3 separate regions of the Homo sapiens genome follow, and regions 2 and 3 are each linked to region 1. Evidence: promoter capture Hi-C in 16 types of primary human blood cells and fetal thymus (Javierre and others, 2016). All regions are on one chromosome and are shown on one strand. The core of a region is centred on a gene start or on the middle of the fragment in contact, and the rest is flanking DNA. Distances in the headings are between cores, read along the strand shown. Region 1 holds the start of YTHDC1 (YTH N6-methyladenosine RNA binding protein C1). Region 2 overlaps SULT1E1 (sulfotransferase family 1E member 1). Region 3 has its middle 43 kb from the start of SULT1B1.

What was found. Contacts are between HindIII fragments. The CHiCAGO score rates a contact against its expected background, and 5 or more counts as called.
Region 2: a fragment that was not itself captured here is called in contact with the fragment with the promoter of YTHDC1 in region 1 in 1 of 17 cell types (non-activated CD4 T cells); the score reaches 6.1 in non-activated CD4 T cells.
Region 3: a contact is called between a fragment that was not itself captured here and the fragment with the promoter of YTHDC1 in region 1, in 1 of 17 cell types (naive CD8 T cells). The highest score is 5.4, in naive CD8 T cells.

Annotation. Positions count from the first base shown.
Region 1 is chr4:68,348,565-68,352,067 of GRCh38, reverse strand. It overlaps YTHDC1 (YTH N6-methyladenosine RNA binding protein C1), which reads left to right and starts at 1,978. Exons shown (of 17, transcript NM_001031732.4): 1 at 1,978-2,342. The coding sequence starts at 2,315. RefSeq lists an enhancer at 2,030-2,609. The HindIII fragment of the contact is 7,711 bases long and covers 1-3,503 here.
Region 2 is chr4:69,839,404-69,842,906 of GRCh38, reverse strand. It overlaps SULT1E1 (sulfotransferase family 1E member 1), which reads left to right. Exons shown (of 8, transcript NM_005420.3): 8 at 801-1,695. The coding sequence ends at 913. Among named protein-coding and RNA genes, the nearest start is that of SULT1E1, 19 kb to the left of the region's middle. The HindIII fragment of the contact is 1,398 bases long and covers 1,292-2,689 here.
Region 3 is chr4:69,715,586-69,719,088 of GRCh38, reverse strand. No RefSeq gene overlaps it. Among named protein-coding and RNA genes, the nearest start is that of SULT1B1, 43 kb to the left of the region's middle. The HindIII fragment of the contact is 3,151 bases long and covers 57-3,207 here.

The DNA.
Region 1 (3,503 bases), core at 729-3,228:
AGCTTCAACAATTGTTAACTCATGGGTAGACTTGTTTAATCTATTCTCCTACCCATTTCGCTACACCTGCCACCAGTTTGATAAATCCCAGATACCATATAATTTCATTTGCAAATATTTATTACTATTCTTATTATTATTTTGAGACAGAGTCTAGCTCTGTTGTCCTGGTTGGGGTGAAAGTGGCACAATCTCAGCTCACTGCAACCTCCGCCTCCCGGGTTCAAGCAATTCTGCCTTAGCCTCCCGAGTAGCTGGGACTACAGGCGCATGCCATCATGCCTGGCTAATTTTTGTATTTTTAGCAGAGACGGGGTTTCACCATATTGGTCAGGCTGGTCTCAAACTCCTGACCACAGGTGATCCGCCCGCCTGGGCCTCCCGAAGTGCTGGGATTACAGGTATGAGCCACTGCATCTGGCCTGCAAATATTTTCATATGAATCATGAAATTATAAGAAATTCTTTAAAAAGCAAAACTTATTAAAACTAAAAATACAAATAGCAATTCCTCAGGATCATCAGATATTATTTAATGTGTGTGTGTGTGTGTGTTTGTGGCGTGTGCGTGTTCGTATATTCAAATTAGTGTTCAATTAAGGTCCTAGAAATGGGGCCACTCCTGGTGGCTTCACACCTGTAATCCCGCACTTTGGGAGGCCGAGGTGGGAGGATTGCTGGAGCCCAGGATTTAGACACTAGCCTGGGCAAGATGGCTAGGTGTTAGCCATCTTGCGGAGATGGTATATCTCCACAAAAAATGCAAAAAATGTGTCGGATGTGGTGGAGCATGCCTGTAGTTCCAGCTACCTGGGAGGTTAAGGTGGGAGGATCACTTGAGCCCAAGGTTGCAGTGAGCCATGATCACACCACTGCACTCCAGCCTGTGTCACAGTGAGACCACGTCTCAAAAAAAAAGAGGTACCACATTCTAGACTTCTAGACTACTTGTCTTTCCCTGAATATGCAGTTAGTTTGCCAGTTTGTCTTCATATCACGAAGTTACTTAGTTACCTTTTTCAGATTTTTCTTTCCCTTATAACTCAGTTATAGTTCAAGGAAGCAAAATTAGATTGTTTCCGTTGGACAATGAATCTTAAGCAAGTTTCTCTTGCAGATTTTACCACACTATGTAGTTATGTATCTACTGGTCATTTATTCTGTAGTTTCGATTCCTCGATGGTCTGCTTAAATCAATTTTGTGCCCCAGGGCCTTGATAACATGTTTAAATTAGTTATTAATTACAAAGACCTATTATGATACAATTCTTTCCCCAATTAAAAACAAAACTAGGCCGGGCGTGGTAGCTCACGCCTGTAATCCCAGCACTTCATCCTGGCCAACATGGTGAAATCCCGTCTCTACTAAAAATAAAAAAATTAACTGGGCGTGGTGGCGGGCGCCTGTAGTCCCAGCTACTCAGGAGGCAGAGCCAGGAGAATCGCTTGAACCTGGGAGGCGGAGGTTGCGGTGAGCCGAGATCGCGCTGCTGCACTCCAACCTAGCGACAGAGCGAGACTCCGTCTCAAAACAAACAAAAACTAGCAGGCTTTTGTGACTACAAACAAGCTGGTTGCATGCTGCACTGCCTTTGGGTAAGAGTGGAACTCCAACTAAGAAAGTACATCTGGTAAACATAAGGGATTCACCCAGACTTGTCCTAAATAAGACTCCGATTACCCGAACTGAATCAGGAGTCCTTTAGAGCGACTCTAGCTAAGAAGGCCTGTTAGGCCCTGCACTAAGAGTTTCAGGTGGGAAAATTGCGCCATCCAGTTATAGGCCGTACAGCGGGAACTCCATGAACAACCTGGGTAACCTAATCCCTGAATAAGACTCCTTCCAGGTACCAGTGGGCTGAGGGCGGCAGGGCGACGCGCTGACGTCACGTCACGTTCCTTTGCACGTCCCCGCCTCCCCGCCCCTCTCCGCACTGTGACGTTCCCAGAGAGGAACGAAGCGTAAACAGCGCAGGGCATTTCGGGAGCGGGATTGTTTCGCGCAGGAAGCAGGCTCCATTTTAGCGCCGCCCGCCGTCGCCATCTGTTTCCCTTCCCTCCCCCATACCTAGCCCGAGTCTGAGCCCTAACGAGAAGGCTGGGCCTAGGCCGCTGGATGCTGGAGTGAAAGGAAGGGAGAAAGGGAAAAAGCGGGAAGAGTCGAGAAGGCTGAGTGTTAAGAGGCCAAGTGCGACGCGCGTATCCGGGCAGACGGACTGACGGACGGGCCCGTGCTTCTGCCGCGGCTGCGGCGCCCGCGCGAGTCGCGTCTAAGCGGCGGCGGCGGTGGCAGCGGCGGAAACCGAAGGGGAGCCATGGCGGCTGACAGTCGGGAGGAGAAAGGTTAGTGCGGAGAAAGATGACGGGCCGAGGCGAGGCTGGGGCCCGGGAGTGGGGTGATGGAGCAGTGGTCGTCGTTGGGGGTGGGGGGTGGGGGTTGGGGAGGTTAGCTGGCCTCGCGAGGAGCCGGTGGCCCCCACCGAGACACTTAGACTCTGGCGGAGACCAGGCCTGCCCTTTCGTCCTCAGTCTCCATATGGCCTAGCACTTCATCTCAGTAGGGTTTTTCTTTGATGCGGATTTCACGCTTGACTTTCCGTTTAGCTGTCTTGGGCTGAGAGGGGCCCTTTCTGAGTTGCAAGCTCCTAGGTTTATTTCCTGGTAGGATCATGCGGATGTAACGCGTATTTTCAGGACAACCATTTCTGTTAGGCTAAAATTTGAAAACCCCTAATGCCGCGATCAACACTGGTGGTGTGGTAAGTGAGCAAGTTTAGGAAGTGGCACTGGCAGGTTATTAATCTTGAGAAATATCTGCAAATAACTTCTGGCTGTTCCTGTTAAATAGGCAAAGTGAATTACCCGTTTTGTTCCTCGAATACTTATTTTGGAAAAACATAGTACTTGGAAAAAGGAATACTTAGTTTGGAAAGATGACTGTGTGACTTAGGCTGGCAAAGAAATCCTGGGTGCTATTATGTTAGAAAAACCGTGTGTAGCTCCCAGAGGGTACAGTCAGAAACAAATGAATGCAAGTTACAGAGAGTTGGAGGGATAAATTTCAGTGAAATGTAGAGAGAACTGACGTTGCTGTAATGGAAAGATAGTAATACTAAGTTCCCAAGCCCTAGAGATATTAATGTAGGTCCTAGATCAGTGTCTCTCTGGAGAGTGGTCTAGATTAAATGCTGCTTTAAGATCTTTTTCAACCCTAAGATTAACATAATAGTCTTGGAAAGATTATAGTTAAAAATATGACACGGTCGCTGCTCTGTGTCTCACACATCTCTTCTGTGTGCCTAATTGATTTGGGGTTTTTTTGTCGGGGGTTGTTAAGTGGGCTCTAGAGTCAAGTTACATTAGGCGTGTAATCCTTTTTTCTTAATTTTTCTGGTTTCTGCATCAGGAGAGTCTTCATGCTTCAATGAACTGCCCTAGGTTAGGGACAAGCTGGGAAAGTGGAATGGGTGGGAATACTTTTAAGATACTGCCCTTATCCTAAAG
Region 2 (3,503 bases), core at 741-3,240, 1.5 Mb before region 1:
AGAGATAGCTGCACTGCATTCCAGCCTGGGTGACAGAGCGAGACTCTGTCTCCAAAAAAAAAAGAAAAAAAAAAAAGATGAATTCCTTCTGCAAGGTGAGTGTTGGAAGTATGTTAAAAAGCAAAACAGGAAAAGCCTGCTGGACTATTATAATTACCCAGATGAGAAACACTCTCTGGCTGGCAGTAGCAGAAGTGTTTAAGAGGCAGTAGATATAAAGAAAGCCTGAATATAATGAATTAGATGTTGTGGTTAAGAGAATAACGTCCAAGCTTATGTGTAGATACCTGGTGTTGACTCTACACAGGTCATTAAAATGTAAATGGAGAAAACACAATATGCTAAGGAATAAAATGAATTTATTTTTGAACTAATTGTATTTGGAAAATTTGGACATTTTTCAGGTGGCAAAATCATGTAGGCAGTTGTATATAAAGCATAAGTCTGGATTTTAGTGCTATCAGCATTAAGATGATATTTAACACCTTGAGAGTGGGTAAAACATGGATCTTATCCTGGGAGCCCCAACAGCTGAGATGAAACTTCAGAAGAAAAATAAAGTAAATGGCATAAGAAGAAAGAATCAGAGAATTAAATTTGTTGTTTTTTTAAACCAATTAGGACAAATCCATCTTTGTAAGCCCAAAAAAGTATATCATTAAAGGTATACATTTGATTCTTAAAATTGAGAATTACAAGTATAATATTTGATTAGGTGTTAATGAAAGTGATGAAATTAGCAAACCTAATGATTCTTTTTGGAAGACTTAATATTTATTGAGCTTTCTTTTTTGTTACAGGAATTACAGGAGACTGGAAAAATCACTTTACAGTAGCCCTGAATGAAAAATTTGATAAACATTATGAGCAGCAAATGAAGGAATCTACACTGAAGTTTCGAACTGAGATCTAAGAAGGTCTTTCTTTACTTAACATATCTGATATTAAAGATTTCTTTTCATTATTCTCCACTTTTTCTTATTTTAGATTGCTAGAAAAGACATAATCATGGATTATGTTGACATTTTCTTTTTAAATTTTTGTTTAACTTTTTTTTTTTTTTTTTGAGACAGAGTCTCACTCTGTTGCCTAGGCTGGAGGACAGTGGCACAATCATGGCTGATTGCAGCCTTGACCTCCTTGACTCAATTGATCCTCCCATCTCAGCCTCCCAAGTAGCTAGGACTACAGACATGTGCAACCATGTTTGGCTAATTTTTTTAATGTTTTTTTGTAGAGATGAGGTCTTATTATATTGTCCAGGCTGGTCTTGAATTCCTGGGCTCAAGCTTCCCAAGTAGCTGCAACAACAGGCACACACCACCATGCTCAACTAATTTTATTTCTATTTTTTGTATAGACAGGGGCTTGCTATAGTGTCCAGGCTGGTCTGAAACCCTTGAGCTCAAGTGATCTTCCCACACCAGCCTCCCAAAATACTGGGATTACAGGCTTGAGCCTCCATGCCTGGCCCAGGTAACATGTTTATTGAGCTGTACATGCATATGAGAAATAAGAAACTTTTTTTTCCTACTATCATCTCTTAAATTTTGTTTTCTTTTTCTTTTGCTTCCTCTTCTTCTTTTCTATTTTTTATAAATATCATGCACAACTATAACCTATGGGAATGATGTAGTAACACAGATTATTCATCTTGTTAGAGTTGTATTAAAAATAAACAAGCATTTCAAATTATTTTTGTGATTGATTTTCCATTTAGTAGGACATTAGTATATAATAAAAATGGTGCATGAACTTTGAAGACTCTGGAAGAAAGAATGAAATAATATATAAATAGGGGGCATAACTATAGCTATGATTTCCCTCCTTATTTTCTTTTATTTTCTTTTTTTTTGAGACGGAGTCTCACTCTGTCTCCCAGGCTGCAGTGCAGTGGCGTGATCTCTGCTCATGCTCACTGCAAGCTCCACCTCCTGGGTTCCCGCCATTCTCCTGCCTCAGCCTTCCAAGTAGCTGGGACTACAGGCGGCCGCCACCACGCCCGGCTAATTTTTTGTATTTTTAGTAGAGACGGGGTTTCACAGTGTTAGCCAGGATGGTCTCGATCTCCTGACCTCGTGATCCACCCGCCTCAGCCTCCCAAAGTGCTGGGATTACAGGCGTGAGCCACCGCGCCTGGCCCATTTTCTTTTACTTTCAACAAAATGAGTTAATTTTAAATTTACCTTAGTCTAACTCCAATTTTTCAACATAACACAACAGATTTCCAAACATCCAAAAATAATTCCAATGAGTGTGATTTATCTTCAGCTAGTTTGAAATATTTATGCTTTAGGGTTCCTTCTGTCCTATATGCAATCCAACAAATGTAAATATTGTAAAATAAGTTTTAAAGAATAAGATATTTGGCAGTAAAATATAACAAAAACAGAAGAAAAAAGAATTAAAATTTTTTATTGTTTTTTATTTAAAACATCTTCTATTTTTAAAATTGTATTCTTTTTCTGTACTATGTTTAGTCAATGCTTCCTTTCACTAACACAGAGGAGACACAAGATCATTACATATTTACTTAGGGTCTTCAGTAGAATGCTTATCTAGACTACAATAGACTAAAAGGCCAAATCTGGGGAGAAATCCAGATGATTTATTTTCTTACTTTTTGGAGAAAAGTCCATGGATTTCTGAGCACCCTATTCAATAGTTATAGTTTTTAAGAATCAAAGCTTTTTTTTAATGTTTAATATAGTTATTAATTATACAAAAATTGGAGAGTCTTGGAAAATATTAAGATATTGTTGAGGACAGTGTTTACCGGGGGAATCAGAATCAATCCCTGAAAACAATTGTTTTACATTTTTTATGTGCCCATTTAGTCATAATTTTTAAAATTTCACATTATAATGTCCAATAACTTTTTTAGAATGCATTTTGTAAGATTCATAGTGATGTTGCCCACATTATAATTGACGTAAGTAAGCAATAATAAACCTACGTATATTTCTGACATCAGTCCTTGGTGGAACAACACATTCCAGTTTAGCCTGAATAAAATTTGGACCAACTATATCTTTCCAAAGCTTGCCAAGAAACTTCTGTATCTTCTTTGGAGAAGTAATACGGCTGGGATCTAGCTTCAATTTCACGTAGAAACTTCAACACCTTTAGATTATTGGCATCTTCCTGGAGCTGGGCTTACAGTCCATATGGACTGGAGACAATGAAAACCTTGGACGGCATCATGTGGTAAAATACATAGGGGTGGCCAATGTAGCTTTGGTTCTGTGCTTCCAAGAAAGCTACAGAATTTTTTTACCTCATTGCTTAATATTTCCTAATAATTATATCTCTAGAACAATGCCTTCAGGCCCAGATAAATTCACAGAAATACTTTTTAAAGGTTTATGGACTGACTGATTAATACCATGTGTTATCATTTGAATGTGTTCCCCAAAAGTTTATGTATTGAAAACTCAATTAATCTGCCCTCATAAATGGATTAATTGATTAATGAGAGCTCTGCACTCATGAATGGATTGGTG
Region 3 (3,503 bases), core at 383-2,882, 1.4 Mb before region 1:
TGTTCTCTTCTATTGAGAGAAAGAGAACAAGATGTCACAAATCTTATGAAAAAGCTTCTCCTGTAACTTCGAATATGGGAAAAAAGGAGAGGGAACAAACTATTTTCTCACAACTTGCATCCTCTATATCCCCTCCCTCCCTTCCTCTAGAACTATTGGCAAGAGTATCAACATTGTTGTGCATAGTAGAAGTTTTTGTAAAAGAAAGATTCTTGTAGCTCTCTCTAGAGATTCTGATTAAGAAAGCCTGGAGTGGGACTCTAATTTACACATTCTATAAAACACCAGAGGTGACTCAATAGCCATATTATATATTGCAATTTCCAAGTGACGAAGATGAACTACTCATTTTGCAAGTAATAGATAGATAGACAGATTTAACAGCTACAAAGTAGCTCCTTTTGTACGAATGAAATTCATATTTAGAAATGCAGAAAAATAAAATAATGAAAACTTAAAACTTAAAGCCAATGGCTAAATATAATTTGAAGGGAAAGAGGAAGTTAAGTGAATCACATAACTTAAAACTGGCCTTTAGCCAAATATGCAGTGTGTTTTAAAATAAATGGGTAACTTTCCTAGTACAGTTTGCTTAGTGTGTAAACTATTCATTCGCTTAAACAATGAGTGTAAATTGGGTTTCATTGAGAACATTTTTTTCTTATTCCCTGGGTAATTATTTCTTCCATTTTTTGAAAGCTAAGTTTCTGAATAGATTAGTACATGATAAAACTATACTCTCTCATTGTTTTGCCTGAGTTGTTCTTACTGTCGTATTTTGGGGTCTTGAGCTTGAACCACACTGGGCCTCTGCAACAAAGCCAAAATGCAAGGGAAGCAAACCAGAAAGGGATAGCAACATACAATAAAAATAAATAGATATAAAGTCTATTCAAAGCAGCCTAGTGGTCAAGGCACATTTTAGGGGTACCAAAATTTCATCTCAATATCTGAATTTTTCATGGTCATTGAAGTTTTACCATTTTTTTAAGTATAGCATACAGATAGAAAACTCCAAAAATCATAGATATACAGAGAAACCTTCCAAATAAACACACCTGTGTAACCAGATTTCATGTCTCTGGTTAATTTGGTTAATGTTTAAGAATTAGAACATTACCAGCATACTGGAGCCTCACTCTTCCAGTCAATGTTACTCCCAATGGAAACCACAAGTCTGATTTCTAACACCATGGATTACTTTTGCCTTTTATTTTGAAAGTTATATTAATGGAATGGTATAGATGGACTCTGTGGACTTTGTGACTTTTTTCACTCAACATTGTATTTTACTGATTTATCCATGTTGTTGCATGTAGTTGTAGTTTTTATTTTTATTATTATATAGCATTCCATTATGAGACTATACCAATGTTTATTTGCTTTTGATAAGCATTTCAAAATTTTCAGTTTGGTTTACTACAAATAGTACTACAGTGAACATGTTATTTACATTTTTGGTATATATATTTTATGTGCATTTTCCTTGAGTGTAGCCTAGGTATTGATTTACTAAATAACGTGATGTGCATACGTTTAAGATATACCACCATATACTTTTCCAACCTGGTTATATTGATTTACAATTACACCAGCTGTACAAAAGCATTCCAGTCCCAGATTTTATACTCATCACCTATTATTTTATGTAATTTTCATTTTAGCCATCTTGGTAAATGTTTATTATGTTCTGGTTATAATTGATATTTCACTGCTGATAAATTTTGAGTAAGTTTTCACATTAATTCATCATATTGATTATTCATTATACCTCTTTTGTGAAGTACCCATTCAACTCTTTTGTCTATTTTTTATGTGTTGCCCTATTTTTTCACTGATTTGAAGAATATGAATATCTATGAGTGTGCATGTGCATATGTTTGCTTACACATATGTACATATTTTTATGTAGGTGTGTATATATATACACCTTAAGATTTTTTGTATCTTTGCTCTTTTCAAAATCTTTCTTATTTTCATATTGTCTATAGAAATATTAGTGATATCCCTATTTCATCCTCAATATTGATGAGTATTCTCTCTCTCTTTTTTAATATGTCTTGCCATGTGGTCGTCAATTTTCTTACTCTTAAGAAACACAAAACTGTTGGCTTTTTTGATATTACATCTGCTATTTCATCTGCTTATTCTATGACTTGAGTTTTTAGTCACTTAACAGTGTCTTTTGGTATTATTAGTCTTAATATTGTTCAATTTATAATTTTTTCTGCAGAGTAAGCATTTTGTATCCCACATAAGAAATATTTGTTTGCAACGAGGTAATAAAGATGCTCTTTTTTTCTACAGGATTTATTGTTTGTCTTTCACATGTAAATCTAAAATATATCTGGAATGAATATTTATATGGTAGGACTCCAGTGGTTTTCCCCACCTAGAGATATCCAGTTGACTTAGCACAATTTACTAAAAAGGCCATTCATTCCTCACTTTACTGCAGTCACATTTGTATTACATCAGTTGTCCTTATAAATGTGGGTCTGTATCTGGACTATTTTATTCCACTGGTCTTTTATAAATGTTTACATGAACACCATATTGCTTTAATTAATATAGCTTAACAATGTAACTGAATGACTGATAGTAGAACTCAATTTCATTTTTCCTCAAGAATGCCTGGTCAAGTATTGGCCTTTTGTTTTTCCATATACATTTTAGAAGAATCTTGACAATTTCCCTTAAAAAAAAACCTGCTATGATCTGTATTAGGATTGCATTTAATCTATTGATCAATTAGTCAAGTAATTACATGATTACAAAAAACTATGCTTTTATTTGGGAATTATTTGCTTACCTCTAATAATTTGTTATTTCAATGTAGAAGTCGTATACTTTTGTTAGATTCAGTTCTCCACATTTGACCTATCTTGATCATTTTAAATGATATTTTCTTTAAAGGCCATTTTATAATTTTTGTTCCTGGTATGTAGAAATGCATTTGATTTTTAGTTTAACCTTTTATCCAGAGACCTTATTAATTTCACTTGTTAATTTTAATAGTCTACAGATTCTATCAAGTCTTTTTACATACAATATAATGTCAGTTATCAATGACAGTTTATAATTCTTCCTTTAAAAACTTTGTATTTTTTTTAGTTCTTCTTGTGCTGCCTAGCACATTTAATAAAATATTTAAAAAATAGTGAATTGAGCACTTAGGCTTTTGTTTTCAGTCTCAGAAGTAAAGCTTTTAATATTTTATCACTAATTCTATTTTTTGTATTTCTTAAATTGAAATTCTTCAATTTGTTAAGAAAATTTTCTCTAATTATGTGTTGCTAGAATTGTATCCTTATGCATATATTGAGATTATTTAATTCTCTTTTATAATTTTTAATAGAGGTGAATGACTATTTTTTGTAAAGTAACGTAAAATCAATATTGCATTTTTGAAATGAACCCACCTGATTGTTGTGGATTATCCTGTTTATCTACTCCTACATTCAATTTACAAATCTTTGAGATATTTTTATTTACATTCATGA